2 separate regions of the Homo sapiens genome follow, and region 1 is linked to region 2. Evidence: promoter capture Hi-C in human tissues and cell types (Jung and others, 2019). All regions are on one chromosome and are shown on one strand. The core of a region is centred on a gene start or on the middle of the fragment in contact, and the rest is flanking DNA. Distances in the headings are between cores, read along the strand shown.

What was found. The method cuts DNA at HindIII sites, captures the fragments that hold promoters and counts their contacts. A contact is called where the count stands out against the background at its distance.
Region 1: a fragment that was not itself captured here is called in contact with the fragment with the promoter of C9orf152 in region 2 in 2 of the 25 tissues and cell types used here (adrenal gland and aorta).

The regions. Positions count from the first base shown.
Region 1 is chr9:110,161,589-110,167,674 of GRCh38, reverse strand. It overlaps PALM2AKAP2 (PALM2 and AKAP2 fusion), which reads right to left. Exons shown (of 11, transcript NM_007203.5): 10 at 5,543-5,581. Among named protein-coding and RNA genes, the nearest start is that of C9orf152, 44 kb to the left of the region's middle. RefSeq lists an enhancer at 5,434-5,573. The HindIII fragment of the contact is 7,446 bases long and covers 1-5,642 here.
Region 2 is chr9:110,206,509-110,212,252 of GRCh38, reverse strand. C9orf152 (chromosome 9 open reading frame 152) reads left to right here and starts at 4,094. Exons shown (of 2, transcript NM_001012993.3): 1 at 4,094-4,866. The coding sequence starts at 4,674. RefSeq lists enhancers at 4,424-4,924, 4,925-5,425. The HindIII fragment of the contact is 9,571 bases long and covers 2,271-5,744 here.

The DNA.
Region 1 (6,086 bases), core at 670-3,169, 42 kb after region 2:
AATAGAAGCAATCTCAGCATTCTGATGCAACTTCAGACCCCACATGCTAATCAATGAAATGAAAGGTGACAACACTAAGGACAAGTAGGCTCACCACCACTGAGGGAGAGCCTCCCTTCCTCCCATTCACTAGGGCAGTCTGTGGAATCCCGAGAGGAGACTTCAGCCTATCTGGTCCAGTTTCAGTTTGATCAAGAAGAGATTCCAGATTAATGGCATTTAGGTTGCCAACATATGAAAAATGGTTCTATTTCATGACCATGCAGAAAACAAGTCCAGGCATTCTTGCCAATTGTTCTGGCATTTGCTTAGGATGTACAGTTTCTGATTTTGAAGAAAAGTCCAGTAGAGCCAACATTGGTTGATTATGCAAACTGCAATGAAGGCACTGCTCATTCTAAATATAATCAGTTAGGCAAGGGACAGTGATGTTGGTGATATGGATTGGCTGTGTCTCCACCCAAATCTCATCTTGAATTGTAGCTCCCATAATCCCCTTGTGTAGCAGGAGGGACTCATAGGAGGTAATTCAATGTGGGAGCGAGTTTTCCCATGCTGTTCTCGTGATAGTGAATAAGTCTCACCAGACCTGATGGTTTTATAAAGGGCAGTTCCCCTGCACACACTGTCTTGCCTGCTGCCATGTAAGACGTGCCTTTGATCTTCCTTCACCTTCTGCCATGATTGTGAGGCCTCCCCAGCCATGTGGAACTGTGAGTCCATTAAACCTCTTTTTCTTTATAAATTACCCAGTCTTGGTTATTTCTTCATAGCAGTATGAAAATGGACTAATACAGTTGGCAACTCCAGAGAAGCAAGGAGATGCAGTTACAGGCAGAGGTGGGAGCCCAGACATAAGCAGATTGTGGGTAGATGGGAGATCGGGGGTCCATCTCAACCTGCTTCTCTGCACCTTTGTCAAAGGAATGGACCACCCAGAGCTTCAACATATCTTCCTCTGTGAAGCCTCCCCTTTTCCTCCTCAGTCACGTTTGCTGAATGAATGATGCATTGTTAAGCACACAAGCCATGTGTGTTTTGCATAATGTGTTTTGTATGTAAGCATATCACGGTCACTCACTCAATATCCACAGATATCTACGAATAACAAATTAGTAGGAGGAAAGCATGCTTCCAAATCTGTATAGTTAAATAGAGAAATTTTCTAATAGTCTAATGTGTGGTAGCATGGAACTGAAAAACAGCACTGGACTGCACGTGGAAGTCTTGGGCTCTATTTCCAGTTTTGTCCTTTGTTGTTCATCTTTTATCTCACATTTCTTATCTATAACATGGAGAACACAGCTACCCCACTTCACAGGCTTTCTCAGAAGGCACTGTGGACTCAGAAGTCCAGGCAGGTCTACTTCAAATCCTCATGACCTTGGAAAAGTCACTTACCCCTGTGCTTCAGTATCCCCATGTAAAATGGGGATCATAAAAACTACAGCATAAAGTTGGACGGATAAATCAATGAGGCAATGTATGTAAAGTATAGTTCCCAGCACATAGTAAGCTCTCAAACTATGATGGAATAATTATTTCTATCATCATGTGAAAGGGATATATAAATTATGAAGTGGCATACAAATAGGGCGTTTTATAAAGAACTCTACATTGTATAAAAGGATCATCTCTTTGCCTTTCAGATTGCAGATACAAACAGAAAGGTTTACATCAAAGCTAAAAATAAATCTAAAGTTCTAAAAACTATGGTCCCCATCCTCTTGGAATGTTCTTTGTCTTGTTATTTAAACCCTATTTTAATTCTCAAACAACTTGAGCAAATTGAGTTTGCTCTGCTCTTTAGGAACTCTTGTTACAAGCCATCTATCAATCCAATTTACACATATTTATTAGTTTCCTACCAAGTATAAGGCACAGTGCTTCGTGTTGAGGATAGAATAGTCCCTTCCCTCATGGAGTTTAGTGACGAAAAGTATAATGGGCAGAAAAATAATACTCATAATTATGGAAACGTTTAGTATAGCTTGGGTTTGGACATCTACTTGTCAAGAGCCCCAGTAATTCACTTATACCAACAATGAGCTCTCTTTTCTTAATTCATTCCCCTAGTATGTATGCCCATTTACCATGGTCATACAATCACTTACCATGGCCATACAATAAATTTCTAGTGAAATCTAAAGCCTCTAGTAATGGCACAGACAAGAAAATAAACATCCTTACTGAAATACCTGGCAATCTTGATATAAAGCTGTCTTTGGGTTCATAAGGCTTATGACCCAGGGGTGTCTGGGAGTAAAGCTGCACCACAACTGGTCTTCAGAAGATTCAAAAATCAAGGTATTTGAATGAGTATCTGTTCTGTAATTAATTCAGACGTGTGTGTGTGTGTGTGTGTGTGTGTGTGTGTGTGTGTGTGTGTGAATCTCTAGCAAATTTAGAGCTTTTATTACTTGTTTATTACTGCATATTAACTTCACTTTCTAAAGTTCATTCCTTTATTTTCTGGGCAAAAAGGCATATGTCTCTGGGGCTCTAATAATGTCATACTCATGTCCTAAGTACGATGTTACTGTTTGAATCCTCACTACTAGTCTATGACATTTATGCTGTTATTACTCCCATTTTTTATATGAAGAACCTGAAGCACAGGGAGGTTAAGTAACTTGCCCAGAATTACCCAGTTAGCAGAAGGCAAAACCAAGATTTGAACTCTGCACTCTGGGTGCAGAGTTGATGCTTGAGGCCACCAGACTATCTGGCTGCCCAATGGCTGTAAGGAGTCCAGAAGGAGACACACCAGAGAAGAGCAATCAACACTCCCCATGGAAATGGAAAAGGGAAAACAAAAAACGATCTGATTTAAAGTTTTATTGTGGCTGGGTGCAGTGGCTCAAGCCTGTAATCCCAGCAGTTTGGGAGGCCAAGGCAGGCAGATTGCTTGAGACTAGGTGTTCGAGACCAGCCTGGCCAACATAGTGAAAACCTGTCTCTACTAAAAATACAAAAATTAGCTGGGCATGGTGGCTGCCACCTGTAGTCCCAGCTACTTAGGAGGTTGAGGCATGAGACTCGCCTGAGCATGGGAGGCAGAGGCTGCAGTGAGCTGAGATCGCACCACTGTACTTCAGCCTGGGTGACAGAGTGAGACGGTGTCTCAAAAAAAAAAAAAAAAAAAAGTAAACTAAATAAATAAACAAAGTTTTATTGTTTTCACAAATTCACATTCAGGTCTGGTAGGGAATAAAAAACAATTATCTCTCAACAACCCTTTAATATTAATTTTTCTCTCTAATGCTTAGGGAATTCAAGTGAATTGCTTAACTTTGAAAGCAATCAATATAGAAAATTTTAATTTGGACATATGAAACAAAAGACAGATATGTTAAATAATATCACCCTATTCATATTAATATTTATATTTCATCTTCCAACCTGCTTTTAAATTGAAGACAGAGTGGGCCCAACTCTATCTTCCTTGGATATATTTGACCAGATTTTCATTGTTTTAAATGGACTCAAAGGGGAGACGGGCTTAGTCCTAATTCTCAAACTGCCATCCTCCAGATGAGAACCACAATTAGACGTTAAAGAAGGTACAGAATGATATTCTCAGTATTCATTTGATATCTTATGAAAGAAAATTACTGATAATCAGCAGGTCAGCTCTATATTTAAATATAATTCTTTGGCTAAATAGAGAGACCAAAAAACTTATTATGCTACAGGTTAATGCAACCAACTTGAAAAATAATTTACAATATCTAGTAAATGTTAGGATGTATCAGGCTACTAGCCAGTGCTTCTACTCCTAAATATAGAGACAGGTTCTTCCATAGGTACATAAAGAGACATGTATAATAACATTCATAAAAGCATTATTTCTAACGGTAAGAAAAACTGGAAATAGTCTACATTTCCATAACAGAAGATTGAATAAATAGTGATATATTCATTCAATGGAATACCATACAGCAGTTATAAAGAATGAACCAGAGCCACAGTGATCAACAAGGACACATCTCAAAACAATGCAGACAGAACAAAGTCAGGAGCAGAAGATACTGCAACATGATTTACCGCTTATAGAATGTCTTCAAACATGCAAAAATAAGGTGTTGTTTATGTATATACACATTTGTAGTATAAGTATAAAACCATGCATGGAAATGATGAACAACAAGCTCAAAAATAGTTACCTCTGCGAGATTGTAAGGGAGGAGGGAACTGGGAGAAGTACGAGAGGGCTTAAATTGTATTTGCAATACTAATTTCTTTTAAAAATATTAAATATCATGAAATGATAAGAATGGACAAAGCTGGGTAGGTGGGTTTTATTATTTTATTATCTTATATTATTCTGAATGCCAGTTCCATGATATCAGGAACTTGTTTTGTTGACTGCTGTATTCTTGGAACCTAGAACAATGCCTGACACATAGTAGAGCCTTGAAAATTGTTAAATGAATGAACGAATGATTCTCTCTAGAATTCTGTATATTTGAAATAATTCTTTTAAAATCAAAATAAAATACAGAAATAAAAATATGAAAAATATTGTGCTTTCTCAGCAAAAAGAAAAAATGGACAAAATAGAAAAAAATTAAAAGAGAAAAATATTATGCCTTCTCATAGCACACATATTTATAGCACATATATTTGTGAAATCTGTGTAAAAGGAAAGAAGACTTTTGGGGACCGAGAACAGTGGCTCACACCTGTAACCTCAATGCTTTGGGAGGCTGAGGCAGGAGGATCACTTGAGGCCAGGAGTTTGAGACCAGCCTGGGCAACATAGCGAGACCCCCGTCCCTACAAAAAAAATATAAAAAAATAAATTAGCTGGGCATAGTGGCACACACCAGTAGTTCCAGCTCTTTGGGAGGCTGAGATAGGAGGATCGCTTGAGCCCAGGAGGTTAAGGCTACAGTGAGCTATGATTGCACCACTGTACTCCACCCTGGGCAACAGAGTAAGACCTTGTCTCTTAAACAAGGAGGCTTTTGGAGAAATCAAGGCTTAGAGTTTCTAAAATAAAAATACACGTTTAAAGATTGGAGGGAGGGAGGTCTAGGATGGTTTACATTTGATAAATCTGTAGATTAGGATGGTTCATCTTAAATCTATAGAATGGAGCTTTCTAGCTTTATGTTAAGGTAAACAAAGAATGGGTGAAAATCCATAGCTCAATCTGCATGAGCTGCACTGTTTTCCAACCAGGCCAAGTATACTTGCTATTAATGCCTAAAGAAACTTTAAAAACCAAAATAGCCCATCACTTGTGTCCTCTGGTCCAAACGTCTTCAAGATTCGTGAGCAGGCAAGGTCTTCCCCAGTACCCTCCCACTCGCCCCCACAGCACAGCACAGCAAACCACACCATTGTATATCACTGTTGCATGGACTCCAACATTTCGAGGCAGTCCCATATTTCAGAACAGGCACAAAAAAATACATATGGAGACAAGTCATTTTTCTTGCCATTTTCGTTTAACTCATCAGGAAATGGCAAACCACAACAGCATGCACCTGGATCATGCATTCAGTAAGACCAAGACAAACAAATTGAAAAGTACCTCGGAAGTCACCTTGCAAGACAGTAACTTAGAAGTGTACTGGCAGAGAGGGAAAAGACCAGGGTTAGTACATGGCAGTGACACACTTACAGAACACCCCCTAGCCGGGAACAGGCACCACACCAGAAGAGGATGGGAGGGGAAGTAATACCAGGAGGCCATTCTACACCCATGCCAAAACTTTCTCCATCTGATATTAGTTTATTTATAAGTCTATTCTTTGCAGCAACTAGATACCCTATTGTTCACTAATAAAAATATCAGATAAGCCGTACTTTGTTAATTCAAAACGTTGCTTTCAGTTTCTGTACTTTGAATTAACAAGATTCCTTCCCCTCTGTACACAATCAGCTGCCCACCAGCAAGGTCGTTGGGGGCCATTTTGGATTTGCTAGAGTCTGTAGCCAAATAGCCTTTTCTCTTCCCGTAGGCTTCTCTGAACCCCAAAGCCGTCTTGTAACCTGTTGTTCCATTAAAAGAAGATCCTAATCACAGCAGTTGGTTTGTGGAGGCAGATTCTCTGAAACCGGCCTAAGGGTAGTCT
Region 2 (5,744 bases), core at 2,845-5,344:
TGTATTTTTAGTAGAGACTGGGTTTCACCATGTTGGTCAGACTGGTCTTGAACTCCTGACTCAGATGATCCACTCACCTTGGCCTTCCAAAGTGCTGGGATAACTGGTGTGAGCCACCGCACCTGGCCGGATTTCAGGTATCTTTTAGAGCTTGTATCTCCCAGGCCTAGAGATGGTTTGGGTGTAAAAGGTGAAGGAGAAAGGATAGTAATGTTTCTTCTCTCACAGTGTTCTCATGAGAAATTAAATTTAATTTTGTCCAGGTTCCTCAAAAAAGCTAAACATAGAATTATTATATAGTCCAGCTTTTCCAAAAGAATTCACAGCAGGAATGCAAACACACACTTGTATATCAATGTTCATAGCAGCACTATTCCCAATAGCCAAAAGGTGGAAACAACCCAAATCTCCATCAACAGATGAATGGGTAAACAAACTGTGGCCTGTCCATACAATGGAATATTATTCAGCCATAAAAAGGAACGAAGTTCTGATGAATGTTTACAACATGAATGGGCCTTGACAACATGTTAAGTGAAATAAGCCAGTCCAATATATTACAAATATTGTATGATTCCACTTAGGTTGGGTACTAAAGTCATAGGGACAGGAAGTATAGTAGAGGTTGCCAGGGATGTAGGGAAGTGGGGAGCATTATTTAATGGGTACAGAGTTTCTGTTTGCGATGATGGATACGCTGGAAATAATGGTGATTGTTGCAGGGCACTGTGAATGGATGCAATGCCACTGAACTGTACACTGAAAAATTGTTAAAATAGTCAATTTCATTTACACAAATATTACCATAATGAAAAAATTGATCATTTACATAGAGTGATTAGCACATATCTGACCCACTGCAGTTTTAGATCAATGGTTATAACTATTGTTTTCATATGTCTAGCCTAGCCTCTCTTTTTTCAGAGAGGAATCTCCCTTACTCTTAAGGCTGAGAGCTTTGAATTTTTTAGTCTGTCTGCCCTGAAGCACTTCTTGACATCCTGAGTCCTTCTTCGTCATACTTGGCTCTCCTGTGGACACTGTCATTCATACACCTGCAAATCACAGTCCACTCCATAGGACAAGGTCCCCTCCTCATTGGAACCAGAGAGAAGAGAGCACAGGGAAGCCTCCATCCCTTGCAATCTTGCCCTCTTGATTCTCTAAGGCTAGATCACTAGGCTTCAGGGATGGGATAATCTCAGAGCGAACTTATTATAGGGGAGAGGAAAAGTGAAAGAACAGGGTAACTCAAGTTTTCCTGGAGTCTCCAGTGGAAAGAACTCCAAACTGAAGTTCTTCACAAGAACAGGATCCACCACTCCTGTCCTGCCCCCACTGTATACTGGGCTGACCCAGCCTGCTGCTCTCAAGCCAGCTCCCTAAGGGATTCCTTCTTCAAGTCTCTGAGTCTCTACCCACCAATGACTGGTCTTTGTATGGACAGGGTTATTGTCTGAGTCATTCTCTCTGGAGTGGTACCCCAGTTGTGAGTGATACCTGTTGCCACTCAAGTCTCACAGAATAGCTGGATCCCCTGGACAGGAGTGGACCTGGAGCCTCTGGTCTAAGTTATTTTACTGGAAGCTCCAGGGAGGGCTGTAGGGATGCTGGTTCCGGTAATGAACTAACCTGCTACATTAAGCACAGTCTTATCTCTCAACCAGAATGGGACATTTCATGTTCCATACAGTTTACATATATACAGAAAAACAAAATATTCCCTAGAATCACAAGACATCTTATTCCTACTCCAGCGTCTCCAGCCCTGAACAACTTTGAAGCTTATTTCCAGTTCCTCTGAAGGATATACCTGGATAATGAAAGTCACCCATTTAGTGGCAGCCACCCAGAACAAACTCCAGGCTTGATCATCTTTTTTCATTTATTTCTGAAGACTCCCTGGGATGAGATAGAGTTGCCAGTTTTTTCTTATACTATTGTTATTGTTATCACAGACCAAGGAAAGGAAAGTTTATTCAGTAAGTGCTATTGAAACAACTGGTCAATTATTTGGAGGAAAAAACCCCTAGATCCTTGCCTTATACCTAACACAACACCAAAATAAATTTCAAATGGATTAAAGATTTGAGTTTTAAAAGAAAGAGGAACTATATGAACTAAAAGAAGGAATTTAAGCTCCTAAAAGGCATTCAATCAGCAGTAGACAGCCTCAATTTACTTCTCATCAAAATATCCACAAACGCACCCATATAGAAAAAGACAAAAACTGTTAATACTAAAAGATGAAGGCTGACAAGTAAATGCGAAAATATAGTAGAAATTTCTACTGCCATTATTTCTCTCCTCCTCTTCTCTTCTCTTCTCTTCTCTTCTCTTCTCTTCTCTTCTCTTCTCTTTTCTTTCTGAGACAGGAGCTCACTCTGTTACCCAGGCTGAAGTACAGTGGTGCAATCATGGCTCATTTCAGCCTCGAGCTTCTGGGTTCAAGTGATCATCCCACCTCAGCCACCCGAGTAGCTCGGACTACAGGCATGTGCCACCATGCCTGGCTAATTTTTGTAGATACAGAGTTTCACTATGTTGCCCAGGCTGGTCCTGAACTCCAGGGCACAATCAATACACCCACCTCAGCCTCCCAAAGTGCTGGGATTACAGTTGTGAGCCATTGTGGCCAGCCTACTGCCATGATGTCTACTGCCATGATTTCATGGCAGGTGCAGCTGGTCCAGCATGGATGGGTTGCTCTTGCCTTCATGATAGAGTGATCTACCGATAAAAAGGTATGAGGAAGCTTTGGCTATCTCTCTCGGTATTTTTTTGAGACAGATTGAGCTCTAATCCAATGTGATTGCTGTACTTATAAAAAGGGGAAAATTGGGCACAGAGACACCCACATAGGAAGAACATCATATTAGGCCGGGTGTGGTGGCTCACGCCTGTAATCCCAGCACTTTGGGAGGCCAAGGCGGGCGGATCACAAGGTCAGGAGATCGAGACCACGGTGAAACCCTGTCTCTACGAAAAATACAAAAAATTAGCTGGGCGCGGTGGCGGGTGCCTGTAGTCCCAGCTACTCGGGAGGCTGAGGCAGGAGAATGATGCGAACCCGGGAGGCAGAGCTTGCAGTGAGCTGAGATTACGCCACTGCACTCCAGCCTGGGCGACAGAGTGAGACTCCCTCTCAAAAAAAAAATAAAATAAAAAAATAAAAAGGAAGAACATCATGTCAAGATAAAGGCAGAGATTAGGCAATGTTTTTGCAAGCCAAAGAATACCAGAGATTGCTAGCAAACCATCAGAAGCAAGGTGAGAGGCATGGAACAGATACTCTCACACAGCTCCAAGAAGAAACCAACCCTGCTCACACCTTGACTTTGGACTTCTAACCTCCAGAACTCTGAGACAATAATGTTTGTTGTTTAAGACATCCAGTTTGTGGGATTTCGTTATGGCAGCCCTAGCAAAACTAACATATACTACCCAGTGAAGATTTGCTCTCCATCTTCCACGGCTCCCCCACATCAAATGACTAGATCTTGTCTGGTTAATGTCCAAAATGTCTTGTAGGTTCAGGCTCTACTCTGTTTCCATTGCCTCTGTAGACATATTGGGTAATTGGGTAATCAGTAAGCACCGTGATAGGAGAAGATAGAAAGGGACTTAGTTGACCAAATGCAGCAAGGCTAGGTCAAAGCTGGTGTAAGAGGGAGAGGGTCTGGGATTCAAAAGCAATGTGGAAATGTTGAGGCTGGCAAGCAGAGAGTGAGGGGATGCCTAACTTACCACTTGGTTGGAGAATGCTGAGACGGCAGAGGCTGCACCAAATGTCCAAGGGGTAGGGCTGGCCCGAGGCCAAGATTCCCCTGGGCTCTGTCCCATGGCTGACTTTAGGGCTGAATTTTCACCTGGGGTGTGTGTTGGGGTCTGAGTGGAGATCTTGGGGAGATCTTTGCTACTGGGTTTCTTTAGGGTGTGGCCGCGGGGCACACATCCAGAGGCACCGACCTTGTGAAGCTCCCGAGGGTGTTCTTTGAACTACTGCAAACCCAACCGGCAGGTTTGCTGAAAAGTGGCCACGTTCCAGTCCAAAATGTGTGAGCAGAGCGCGAGCTTAGCACTCCCCAGCCCCAGTCCCAGCTCTGCCAGGAAAGGGGAGACTTCACCGTGGCACTGGGAATTGGATTCTAAACTTTAGGATCAAGCAATGGAAGGACCTGGAATAAGACACCTTCTTGACCCCCCTGAAGGGCTCTGAGCAGCTGGGCTTGCCTTTCTCTTTGCTCCCCCAGTCCTCCCCTTACTTCTCGGTCTCCCACTCCCCATCACTCCTTTCCCTGCCTCCTCCTGCCTGTCTCCATCTTCCTCCCTCTCTTTCTTCTCTCGCCCCATTAATCCCCGCTTGTCACTATCACCTCCTTCCTCCAGTCTTTCCCCCTTCGCTGCCCCTTCTTTCCTCTGACATTTCCTTCTCCTCTTACTGCCACTGTCTCCCACCTTTCTCCTCCCCCACATTTCTCCCTATCCCTACCTCCTCTTCCCCTTCATCTTTCTCCTTCCCCCTTATTTTTCTATCTCCTTCCTCAGTCCCACTCCTCTTTCCACCCTCCTTTTGCCCGTCACTTCTCCTTCTCCCTCACTGCCCCCTCCCTCTCTCTCCCCTCCCCAGGTCCTGCCCCACCCAGCTGTGTTTGCTTTTCTCCCGGATCCGGATGGAGGGGTTGCCCTGCCCGTGCCCAGCCCTGCCCCACTTCTGGCAGCTTAGGTCTCACTTAATGGCTGAGGGCTCCAGGACTCAGGCCCCTGGGAAAGGGCCCCCACTCAGCATCCAGTTCCTGCGAGCCCAGTATGAAGGCTTGAAGAGGCAGCAGAGGACCCAGGCCCACCTCCTGGTGCTTCCAAAAGGTAGGAATGGACAGGTGCTGGGGAAGGAGAGACTTACCATGGGAGACCTGAGTGGCAGAGCTGCAGGGAGGCAGAGCCAGGGCTTTGCCAGCCCTCCCTCCCAGTGGGGAAGAGCAGGGGAGGCGGGCTCAGGGCAGCTCTGCTCAGCTGTCCCACCTGCTAAGGGAGCCAGGGGCCTCAGCCAAGCACCTGGCTGCCAGCACTGTTCCTGGCCTCTGCTCTGATGTTCTAATCTTGCTAGACTGGTCAGCCTGGTGAGCCAGGCTTGGCCCCCCTGCTAGCCCAGGTATGGCGATAGGAGCTCTGCTTCCTGGCTGGGTCTAACTAAGGCACCTCCTACAAACCAGAGAAATTCACTCTGGAGGTAGAAGACATGGCGTTCCCAACAGCCTGGGAACTGTCTGGGCCAGAGGACGCCTAGGGCTCAGAGACCCATGAGGCATCCCAGGCTCATCCAGCCTCAAACATCAGGCAGGGAGGTGTGATTGGACACAGAAACCCCCTCATGGGGAGAAACCTCCTCCCTTTAGGAACTCAGATTTCATTCCAGGAGGGAGTTAGAGGCACAGGGCTCAGAAAGCAAGGGCATGTCAAATCCCAGCCCTTCCTCCTCTAACAGAGGAACAGGTTGAGGGAGAAGGGAAGATACCCTGAAAGGTCAAAGCTGGGCTCTGTGGGATTCTGTGGTTATTTGTAGAGTTCAGTAGACTCTTTGGGCTGCCCTTTGCCAGGCCAGACTGGGCAGGAATCAGGGGCCAGAGGGACCTCTCTGTCTAGGGCAGGAAGTGTGCTGCCTTTTGGGAACAAAAGTGGCACCTCTGAGCTGAAGGAGCCCATCTCCCATTACCTGGGCTGTTGCCAACCAATGGAATCCTCGT